2 separate regions of the Homo sapiens genome follow, and region 2 is linked to region 1. The links are contacts of gene promoters, found by promoter capture Hi-C in human tissues and cell types (Jung and others, 2019). All regions are on one chromosome and are shown on one strand. Each heading gives the region's core, a stretch centred on a gene start or on the middle of the fragment in contact. The rest is flanking DNA. Distances are from core to core; before and after follow the strand shown. Region 1 holds the start of ASTL (astacin like metalloendopeptidase). Region 2 holds the start of LOC124900512 (fumarylacetoacetate hydrolase domain-containing protein 2B-like).

Region 1 (5,368 bases), core at 512-3,011:
GCTAATTTTTGTATTTTTAGTAGAGATGGGGTTTCACCGTGTTGGCTAGGCTGGTCTCGAACTCCTGACCTCAAGTAATCTGCCTGCCTTGGCCTCCCAAAATGCTGGGATTACAGGCATGAGCCACTGCGCCCGGTCTACTTTATTTTTTTTTACTGAACATTCATCTTTTTTTTTGAGATGGAGTCTCACTCTGTCCCCCGGGCTAGAGTGCAGTGGCGCGATTTTGGCTCATTGCAAACTCCACCTCTGGGTTCAAGTGATTCACCTGCCTCAGCCTCCCGAGTAGGTGGGATTACAGGTGCCCGCCACCGTGCCCAGCTAATTTTTGTATTCTTTTAGTAGAGATGGGGTTTCACCATGGTGGCCAGTCTGGTCTTGAATTCCTGACCTCGTGATCCACCTGCCTTGGCCTCCCAAAGTGCTGGGATTATAGGCGTGAGCCACCGCGCCCTCCTGAACACTCATCTTAAGTGGTCAGCCTTGTGCATTTGTTTTTTGATGGGTCCTATTCTTTATTTTACTTATTTTTTCTAGGTTTACTGAGGCATAATCGACAAATAAAAGTAGTATATGTTTAAGTATACAACGTGATGTTTTGACATATGCATACCTTGTGAAATGATGACCACAACAAGCTAACTAGCATATCCATGGTGTGTATCCTGACATCTGTCAATACCCTGCCCTGGCAGCAGGGCGTCTGCCTCCATCATGGTCTCCCTGTGATTCTGATTCCTATCTTTGGAGAAGCTCTGGATTCCAGGCACAGTGGGAATGCTGAAAGGTCCTTGTGGACAATAGCTATTCTTCTTGGCTCTGTCGCTTCCCTTCACTGGGTGCAGGTGACTGTGGGGGTGTCCCCAAATGCTGCCCAGCGCTGACATGCTCCGCCTCTGGGATTTCAATCCAGGTGGGGCCCTGAGTGACCTGGCTCTGGGGCTCAGGGGTATGGAGGAGGGGGGATATAGGTAAGGAGTTTAAATTTCCAAATCTGTGAAATGGGAATAAATACTGACTGATCATGCCAGCTGCTGTGGGATTAGGGGGTGGACTCCCTGCGAGGCTCTGGGCATCTGGGGGTTCCACCTTTCCCACATGGCAGGCTTTCTAGGGTGCTGCACACTGTTCAGTTTGTGAAATTTCCTGGAGCCCTGTGCTTGTGATAGTGAACTTTTCTATATGTGTACTAAAATAAAAGCTTGTGAAAGTGCAGTGACCTTTTCCTCCTTCCGGAGATACACGGGGGGCGCCCCAGGGTCTCAGGCAGCTTTCCCCATGTCTAAGCACAGGCCGGGGTAGGAAAGGGGGTCTCCCTCGCTGGAGGAATAGGTCTATACCTGGGCTGGGGCCTCAGCTAGGCCTGGAGCAACTTTCTGCGATGTTTCTCTGCCCCCTGGAGGCAGGAAGGAACCTCAGAAGAGCCACACTCCCAAGCGGGCCCCTCCTGTCTTTCACCTGCTACAGCCAGGAAGGGGACTGGGCTGGGGTGGGAACCACAGGTAGGCATCGGAGGGGCTGCCAGTAGACCTGGTTTGGGTGGCGCTGCCGGTAGAGCTGGTTGGGGCGGGGCTGCAGGTGGAGCTGGTTGGGGCGGGGCTGCAGGTGGAGGTGGTTGGGGCGGGGCTGCAGGTGGAGATGGTTGGGGCGGGGCTGCAGGTGGAGGTGGTTGGGGCGGGGCTGCAGGTGGAGGCGGTTGAGGGGAGCAAGGTGGGAGGTGGAGCAGCTGCTATTTAAGAGGGGGTGGTGGTGCCGGTTCTGCAATTAGGTTACTGTGTCTTGCTGGGGCTTGGTCTTGTTTGCTGAAGGGGCAGCAGGGCTCTACCATGGAGGGTGTAGGGGGTCTCTGGCCTTGGGTGCTGGGTCTGCTCTCCTTGCCAGGTAAGCTGGCTGCCTGTCCCTCCTGCTGCTGGCTCCAGCCTGGAGAAAGCTGGGGAGAGGCTAGAAGGTTGTGGCTGGAGCCTGCAGGGATTGTAGCTGAGCTCAGTAGCTCAGAGCACAGAGCTCTCCAGGGTTATTCTAGAAGTCAGCTCCTGGGGGGCCAAGGGGAGGCCTCCTGAAGGCCCTGGAAGCAGAGGGCCTGCCTGGCAGAAGATAAGTGTTGTGCCCCAGGCCTACTTGTCTTGGGGTGGGGGTAGGCTGTAAGTCCCCACTCCAGCCTGGTCAGGCAGGGAGTCATCCAGGCTGAGCCCATTGTCCAAGAGCCTGGGCTGAGAGAGAGTCATAAGGTGGGGTCTGAGGCTGGCCCTGCCCGTCACGGGCGTCAGAACCCGAGGTCTGTCCTGCCTCCTTCCTTCCTGCCCCTCCTCTACCTCATAGGTGGGGCACATGGTCCCTTTTGGTCCCCCTAAGGGAGCTCCTTCCCTGAGGTCATCTAGACCTTGGCACCAGTTGGGGTTGAGCAGGGAGGCTGGGAAGGCTCCTTGGCTTTGTGCTGGAGCCTACTCTTCCTAGGGACTGAGTCTTACCGTCTGATCCCCCACACCCACCCCATGTCCTGCTGTCTGGTCTCACCGGTGGGTGCTCCAGGCATCTGTGTATGCCCCTGTCTGTCTGGACCAGGTGTGATCCTAGGAGCGCCCCTGGCCTCCAGCTGCGCAGGAGCCTGTGGTACCAGCTTCCCAGATGGCCTCACCCCTGAGGGAACCCAGGCCTCCGGGGACAAGGACATTCCTGCAATTAACCAAGGTGAGGGCACTACATCTTCTCACGGCCTGGAGGGGCACGACGTTATGTAGTGTGAAAACCACACCGAACACTCAGAAATGCAGAGCCTGGGAGGAAATGGACCAGCTTACTCTGGGCTCTAAGTGGTTTTTAAGAGATGGAGTGGTGTTGCTATATTGCCCCGGCTGGTCTTGAACTCCTGGCCTTAAGTGATCTTCCTGCCTCTGCCTCCCGAGCAGCTGGGACTACAGGTGTGAATGGGTGGAAATTCTATGGGCAATTGCTTAAGTCTACTCTTTCTTTTTGTATCTTTCTTAGTGGATTGTTACTTTTATAAGAAAAACCAAGCTCTTAAAGGGCCTGGGCGTGGAGCTAAGCGGTTAGTCGCAGTCTGAGATTGTCAGCCACCCTGTGCAGGACTGTCTGCAGGTGTGATTAAGAAGTCTGAAGCTCAGCTGGGTGCGGTGGCTCTCGCCTGTAGTCCCAGCACTTTGGGAGGCTGAGGCGGGCAGATCATGAGGTCAGGAGATCGAGACCATCCTGGCTAACACAGTGAAACCCCGTCCCCACCAAAAATACAAAAATTAGCCGGGCGTGGTGGCGGGCGCCTGTAGTCCCAGCTACTCAGGAGGCTGAGGCAGGAGAATGGCATGAACCTGGGAGGCGGAGCTTGCAGTGAGCTGAGATTGCGCCACTGCACTCCAGCCTGGGCGACAGAGCATCTCACAAAAAACAAAAAACAAAAGTCAGGCTCAGGGCCTTGCTGTCTGGGGATGTCAGCTGAGGAATGAGGGTGTATAAATAGCCTGAACAAAGCCAGTTGAAATGGAGACTGGAGTTCAGATGTTGGAGCAATGAGGGCTGAAGCACTCAGGGTTGAAGCAATCGGGCTGAACAGGGGACAACCTTGCCCTAAGGGTGGGTGAGATCCTACCAGATGTGGTAGCCACTGTGTGATCTGCCCCCTTCTTCCTCTGTGAGCTGACTTGGGAGCCCAGCGCCAGCTGAGCCTTGAGCCCCAGGCACCATCCCACCCCTGGATCACCGTGAGTGGTCTGCAGGTAACCAGAACCAATGGAGAAAACTCCCAAATGCTGGTGACCCCAACAACTATCCTATCACCTACGGTGAGGCTGTCTCATAAGGGCTGCCCGTGCCTTACCCAGTGCTTTCCTGGGAAGCACCTGCCCATCTCCAGCCACTGTGAATATGGCTAATGCTGCACAGCTGTCTGCCTCCCAAAACTGGCCCTTGGCCAGAAGGAGCTGCCTCAGCCAGAGATGCCCGGGGGCTACTCCCTTGTCTGCCCAAGGTGGCCTACTGTGACTTCTAAGGGACAGGAGTCTGGCTCCTGCCTAAAGGTGGTACAAGTCAGCGGTGTCATTTGTGGTCTGGAGCGCCCATGGGATCTGGCTGAGGCTGTGCCTGGGTTCTTCCCTGCCTTCTCTCCTGCTTCCCTCACTCCCCCTGTGAGTCACTTGTGGGAGACCCGGCTCAGGGAGAGATGAGAAGCAGAGGGACTAAGAGGGGAGAGGGGCTTGCGAGAGCCGGTATTTGCCTGCCTCTGATGGTGGAACAAATTTGTGGAACAAAATTGCCACCTCAAGGGGCCTGAATATAACAGATGGGTGGGGAATAGATGGGGGATGAGGTGGGCAGGAGACCCCAGGGCCTGTTCTGAGGAGTGTGGCTCAGGCTGGAAGAAGCCACTGCTTCCTGACAGCAGGGACCCGGGCTTGGGACTGGATTGCGTGGGTCATGGGCTGTGTTTGAGCAGGGGAAGGCTGCAGTCCAGCCGAGAAGCCTTGCACACTCAGGGACTGTGTGACTTCCCTGAGGCCACGCAGGCTCAGTGCTCAGGGAACCTCTAGCTCCACAGTCAGGAGAGGGACAGACCCCAAGCCTCAGTCTCCTTTGTCTTTGTCCTCCAGCCCCCTCACACCTGCAGACAGTCCGCACAGGGTGGCTGACATTCTCAAACATCAACTAATGACTTAACTAAACACCCAGGCTCGGAGAGCCGATGACCTATACTTTTATCAGGCTATTTAAGAACTTATAAAAGTAACAATCCACTAGGAAAGACACAAGAATAGACTTAAGTAAGTAGGGATTTGCTTGGCCTGTCCCACGAGTCAGTGTTCTGGGGGACATGGGCCAACACGTCCTTCTTCCTTTCCCAGGGCTCATCCTGGAAGAAACCCCAGAGAGCAGCTTCCTCATCGAGGGGGACATCATCCGGCCGGTGAGTGCACACACTGACGTGTGTGGGTGCGGATAAGCCCACAGTTGGCGACAGGTCCTCTGAGCCCACCCTGGATGCCATGGGGCCTGATGTGTGAGGGACATACATAGCTTGGTAGATGCCTCTTTTTGTCAAGGTCAGAGCGACTGTTCTGTTAGGAAATAGGAATAAGCCAGCCTGAATGCTAAGGAAGGCTGGTATCTGAAGTGCTGGCACAGTCAGCCTGAGAGGGCTTCCTGAAGGAGGAGGTTTGAACACTTGACCCAGCTTGGTACCCTGCCCAGGGGAGGTGCTCAGCACTCGGGAGGTGCTCAGATAAAGGAAGAGATGAGCAAGGGTTGGCAGAGTGGCCAGTGGCAGATAAAGGGCCTGGTGGCAGTGGCGACCTAGGGATGGTGGAACAAGGAGTGATGTTGAGCCTGACCATCTTGGCTGTGGTCGAGGGGCCGCATCTGA
Region 2 (5,472 bases), core at 327-2,826, 130 kb after region 1:
GCTGAGACTACAGGTGCACGCCGCCACGCCCAGCTAATTTTTGTATTTTTAGTAGAGACGGTGTTTCACTGTGTTAGCCAGGACGGTCTCGATCTCCTGACCTTGTGATCCGCCTGCCTCGGCCTCCCAAATTGTTGGTATTACAGGCGTGAGCCACCGCGCCAGGCCTGATTTAATTCTTGACGCTTGTGGAAGGTAGGTACTGTTAGTCCCATTTTACAGATGAAACAGTTAAGGCTTAAAGCGGTTAAGGGATTTGCCCAAGGTTACACAGTCTTAAAGCTAGGAAGGGAAGGAGCTGGGATGTGAATCCAAGTCCAGGTGACATTGAAGTCCTTGGTTCAGAAGCTTGTAATGCAAGCAAGAAAATCTAGCTTCAGCCCCATCTTCCTACCAAGGACATTTTAACCCAGAATGTTGTGGTGAGAAGTGGGGACCTTCCATAGGAAATCCTCCAAAGGCCCTAAAGATTGTAGTGAGAAGTAGGGACCTCCCACAGGAGATCCTGCAGAGGCCCTGCTAACAGCCATGCGTGGGGAAACTACAGGCGCCCTCTGGCTGTTGCCTCAGGGACGAGGCTGGTTACCAGCTCTCCAAGAGAACCCCAGGCCCCATTGACTGTTCCCTTCCCACATGACTCACACATGCAGGTTCATTCCAACCTTACAGCAATCCCCTCAGGTAAAGCGCCCTCACTTTACAGAAGAGGACACTGAGACTCAAAGGGATGACGTCAGGTGCCCAAGGTACTAGTCAGAAAGTGGCCCTGGGGCTTCTGCAACAACCACTATGTCACACAGTCCGAGCTCAATCCAACTCTGCAAGAGTCCATAAGCAAAGGGGCGGCGACGTGAGGTGGAAACAGTAGCCTGAAACGTGGGTGTGCACGTCGGATCCCATCCCACCGTCCACTCGCCTGGAAACCCCCAGTTTCCCCATATGCCCAGCTTCGTCCCCTGCAATTAGTGAGGGCTCACATGGGTCCGCCCCATCCGTGTGGTCGGAAACGGCCGGGAACCTGGTTCTAGTTCTGCCCTCCGCGGGAGACCTGCGCCAGGGACACCCTTCTGGCCTAACCCAGCCAGGCCTGGTCTACCTGGCGGCGGCGGCGGCGGCAGCCGGTCCTCCTGCGCTGAGTTAGGGCTCGCGGGGCGGGAGGTCAAGGGCAGCGGGCGCCTGAGCACTGGCACCAGTCACCGCATCCAGCCGGGGAACTACAGCAGCGGCGAAGTCACTGCCGCTCGGTGCGCACTCCAGCGAGAAGCGGGCGCGTCCGGTGACGTCACAGGCAACCACCCCTAGCAGGGCACCAATCCCGGAGGGGCGGGCCCAGTGCGGGGCGGGCGGCGCCGGGGGCTCTTCAGGCTCAGGGCATAGGCAGGCGCCGGCCGCGTTTTCTGGAGACGGTCGCTCTCGGAGGGACCCTGCAATTGCCCGAGACCGAGAGTGGGCGCTGCCTGAAAGTTTGTCCCTGGGCGCTTCGCTGGCCTCATCCGGTCTCGGCCCTGTTCTGGGCCTGGCGCCTTTCCCATTGTTGGGGAAAGTGGTCTAGGAGACCAAGGCAGCGTGCTGGGTGGGAGAGAATGATTTGTGGCTTCTGATTCTGACATATGTCGTTGAGGAGGGGAGGGATGAGTGACCCTGTTTTACTTATGGAGAACCTGGGGCCAGAGCTGTTTTCCCAGGGTGACACAGGCGGTGAGTAGTGGAGCTGGCATTCCTGACCCCAAAGCTCAGCGTTTCCCAGCCACTCCCAGCAGCCAGGCCTTCACCTGCACTGCTGGGCGCAGGTGGGGAAGTGGGGAAACGGTGCTCCATCCCCTGCAGAGGGCAGGCGTGCAGGGAGCGGAGGCTGAACTCCACAGACAGCTACTGCTCAGCTCTTCGGCTGCCGGCTTTGAAGAGTATGAGGGGCTCTGGGCAAGAGGCCCCCACATTACTCAAGGACCAGATCATCAAGAGCTTTACTTGTCCCACGAAGGAGTCTGGACCTTGTTTAAGTGCACAGGAGACCGCTGGAAGGTCCTCAGTGGCGTGCCATGGCCCGACTTCTATTTGAGAAGTTTTTCTCTGGCCACCTGTCTAAGGAAAGGTATCTGGGTGGGTGGTGCGGGTGAGAACAATGATGGTGCGGTGCTTGGCGGAGAAGGTGAGTGTTCATAGATGTTCAGGAGGAAGAACTGACAGCTCTGGATGACAGGAGGTGGAAGTGAGAAGGAAGCAGGTACAAGGCCGACTCCTGGGTCTCTAGCCTGGTAGGTGCAGGGCTGATCATGGAGACAGGGCTTCTGGAGGAGCAGCGGGTCTGGGGAGATGACAGTGAGCTCCAATTTGCATGGGACATCCAAAGGGCATTGAACAGTGGGCAGCTGGAGACGTGGGTCTGGAGCTTGGGACTTCAGTCTAGCTTACAGAAGGTCACCACCGATATAGAAATGGAACCTATGGCCGGGTGCAGTGGCTCACACCTGTAATCCCAGCACTTTGGGAGGCCAAGGCGGGCGGATCACGAGGTCAGGAGATCGAGACCATCCTGGCCAACATTATGAAACGCCGTCTCCACTAAAAATACAAAAAATTAGCCGGGCATGTTGGCGGGCGCCTGTAGTCCCAGCTATTCGGGAGGCTGAGGCAGGAGAATGACCTGAACCCGGGAGGCGGAGCTTGCAGTGAGCCCGGATCACACCACTGGGGGACAGAGCAAGACTCCGTCTCAAAAAAAAAAAAAAAAAAAAAAAGAGCCTATGGGGGTGGCTGTGATCAGGGGGATGTGCTGAGGAGAACCTGGCACAGGTGTTTCATTAAGCCATAGCTCCCAAAGACTTTCTGAAAAGCTAAGTTACAGCCTGAAAGAAAAGATCTTCAGAGGCTATATTTGATAAAAGACTTGTATCCAGAATATAGAAAGAGCACTTAAAATCAATAGATAAAATCAAACAATTCAATTTTTTAAATGGACAAAATATTTGAACAGACACTTCACCAAATAAGATATACAGACAGAAAATTAAGACATGAAAAGATGCTCAACATCATTAATCATTAAGGATATGCAAATTGCAAGCACAATGTGACACCGTCTCACACCTACTAGAATGGACAAAGAAGACTGATTATACCAAGTATTCACAAGAATGTGGAGGACCTGGGATTCTTGTACGCTGCTTATGGGATTATAAAATAGTATCACTACAATTGAAAATCATTTGGCAGTGTATGAAGAGTTAAACATACTCCTACCATATGACCTAGCCATTTCAATCCTAACTATTGACAGTATTGAGTTGTACCTTAGCCCTTTGCTCCTAGAAATAGTGAAGGTTAAGGAATCCTTCCACTCCTTTGTTCCAGAAAACACCCTACTGGAAAGAACCAGTGGCTTTCCATATAGCTTGAATAAGAATCCTGAATGTCTCCTCCTGACCAGACCATACACAGACCCTCTAAATTCCCATTCTTGACATCATAAATGATTAGCTGGACTGCTTGTCCCCACAGATCAATAAGAACAAAATGCCTGTAACCAAACCTTGGTTCAGATTCTCTCCTTCTCCAAGCCCCTGACCTTTGGCCCACCCGCAGCTTGTGCCAACCCACCGCCTTCCTGAGGGTCCCTCCTGAGAACAGGCTGTCTGCAGGGTAAGACCTGCTCGATCGTGACACTCTTGCTCAGCTCACTTTCCCATAACAGTTCTTTCTAGCCATGTTTACGCCTCCCTATACAAGGTCAGCCCTTTGCCTAACCTCTGAGACACTTGAGGATCACATCGTCAGACTGTCTCCTTATTGTAATAGTCCCCCCCCAACCCCCACAACAATCCTTTTGAATAAATTCTCTTTTTATGGAATCCAGATTTATATTTTTGTTTGATAGTAATTACATGAGAAATAAGAAAAATATGCTCATGCAAAGATGTATTCAGAAGTGTTCACAGCAGGCTTTTTGTAAAATCCCCAAACTGGAAACCACCCAATTTTCCATTAACAGGTGAATGTGTAAACACTCTGTGTATAGCCACACTAGGGAATACTACTCAGCAATAAAAAGGGACAAATTATTGATACAACATAGAAATATATCAAGATAATTATTTGGAGTGAAAAAGGGTAGATTAAAAATGAGTACATATTGGATGATTTCATTTATATGGAGTGTCCTTGAGGGATATCTTCAAAGACCCCTAGCAGATGCCTGAAACTGCAGATAGTACCAAACCCTACATCTGCCACGTCTTTTCCTATACATAGATGCCAGTGAACAAATTTAATCCAGATGAAGTTAATCTGGTGCTACACGGTTGCTGTCAATCAGAATACGTTTCTGTTGACATCTTCCACTCACAAATCTAATGCTTTTTCTACCCTAACTAAGCGCTTCTCACACACTGTAGCCATAAGTTTTGCATTTTGAGGTGTGACAGCAAAACTGGCACAAATTTCTTTTTCATTCTTCACAATTTCATGGATAGAAGATTCATTCTTTCTGTAGATCTTAGCAACCTCATTATGTGATTTTTTTTTTTTCCTGGCAGCTTGAGAGGGGCACATGTTAGCAAGAAGGAGCACAGCATCCCTGCCAAGTTATCTGTCCTACGTGTACCCTGGGTTAGACACACCCTCCTCTGGCTTGCTGTGGTCTGGCCTCACCCTGCGATGCAGGGGCTCCATCCACAGCCCTCTGTCCAGGAGCACCCAGGCTCTGCTTACATTTTTTCAGGGATAGGGAGGTCACTGCTGTGTGGGCGGCTGGGCCCAGTATTTTATGGGGAGGGGGAGAATGGAAGGCAACTCTGTCTTCAAGTGTCATCACTGTCCTGGGCGCATGGAGCAGCCCAGGTAACAACGTGCCCTCGGTGTTCCCTAATGCTGGGTAGTCCTTCCTGTCAGAATGTGCTTCCTGTGACAACCTGAAGCCTGTGACTCCTAGCTGGTAGAAATGTCTTCAGCTTGCCCCTGGAGCTGTGCAGAGCACATCTTGTCTTGCATTTTCTAAAATGTTTGAATAAAACCAGCATGTCATTCCTCTGCCACCTCTCCCCTACTTCCCTCACCTTTCTTAGACCTCACATCATTCTGATAATCTCCTTGGGGTAGATTCAGTCACCGTTGGTCATCACCAGCTGTGCCTCCTCCTGCTGGAGGATGGGGTGTTCACATCTAGCTGAACTAAGGCCTGGCCATCAGACTTGTTTTGGCCGATGCTATGTGGGCAGGAGCATCATAGACCCCTTACAAGGCTTCTGTAAAAGCCTGCCTGTGTTTGCCATGTCTCTTTTCCCTCTGCTACTAGATAGAATGCTCTAAATAAGAACCACTCTGTCAGCTTGTGTCCCAGAGTAAAAACGACATGGATCGAGCCACAGCCAACTCACATCGGATGTGGAATATGAGGGAGATGACACTGAGATTTGGGAGTCTTTTGTTATTGCAGCAAAACTCAGCCCATCCTGACTGATATGACTCATTTGCCAA

Evidence for each region. The method cuts DNA at HindIII sites, captures the fragments that hold promoters and counts their contacts. A contact is called where the count stands out against the background at its distance.
Region 2: a fragment that was not itself captured here is called in contact with the fragment with the promoter of ASTL in region 1 in 1 of the 25 tissues and cell types used here (hippocampus).

Annotation. Positions count from the first base shown.
Region 1 is chr2:96,134,895-96,140,262 of GRCh38, reverse strand. ASTL (astacin like metalloendopeptidase) reads left to right here and starts at 1,761. Exons shown (of 9, transcript NM_001002036.4): 1 at 1,761-1,881; 2 at 2,563-2,688; 3 at 4,851-4,912. The coding sequence starts at 1,827. RefSeq lists a silencer at 857-946 and enhancers at 1,837-1,906, 4,247-4,296, 5,148-5,368. The HindIII fragment of the contact is 6,053 bases long and covers 1-3,679 here.
Region 2 is chr2:96,006,357-96,011,828 of GRCh38, reverse strand. LOC124900512 (fumarylacetoacetate hydrolase domain-containing protein 2B-like) reads right to left here and starts at 1,085. Exons shown (of 4, transcript XM_047446740.1): 1 at 1-1,085. It also overlaps the pseudogene FAHD2CP. RefSeq lists a silencer at 1,337-1,416 and an enhancer at 1,367-2,198. The HindIII fragment of the contact is 3,783 bases long and covers 1-3,467 here.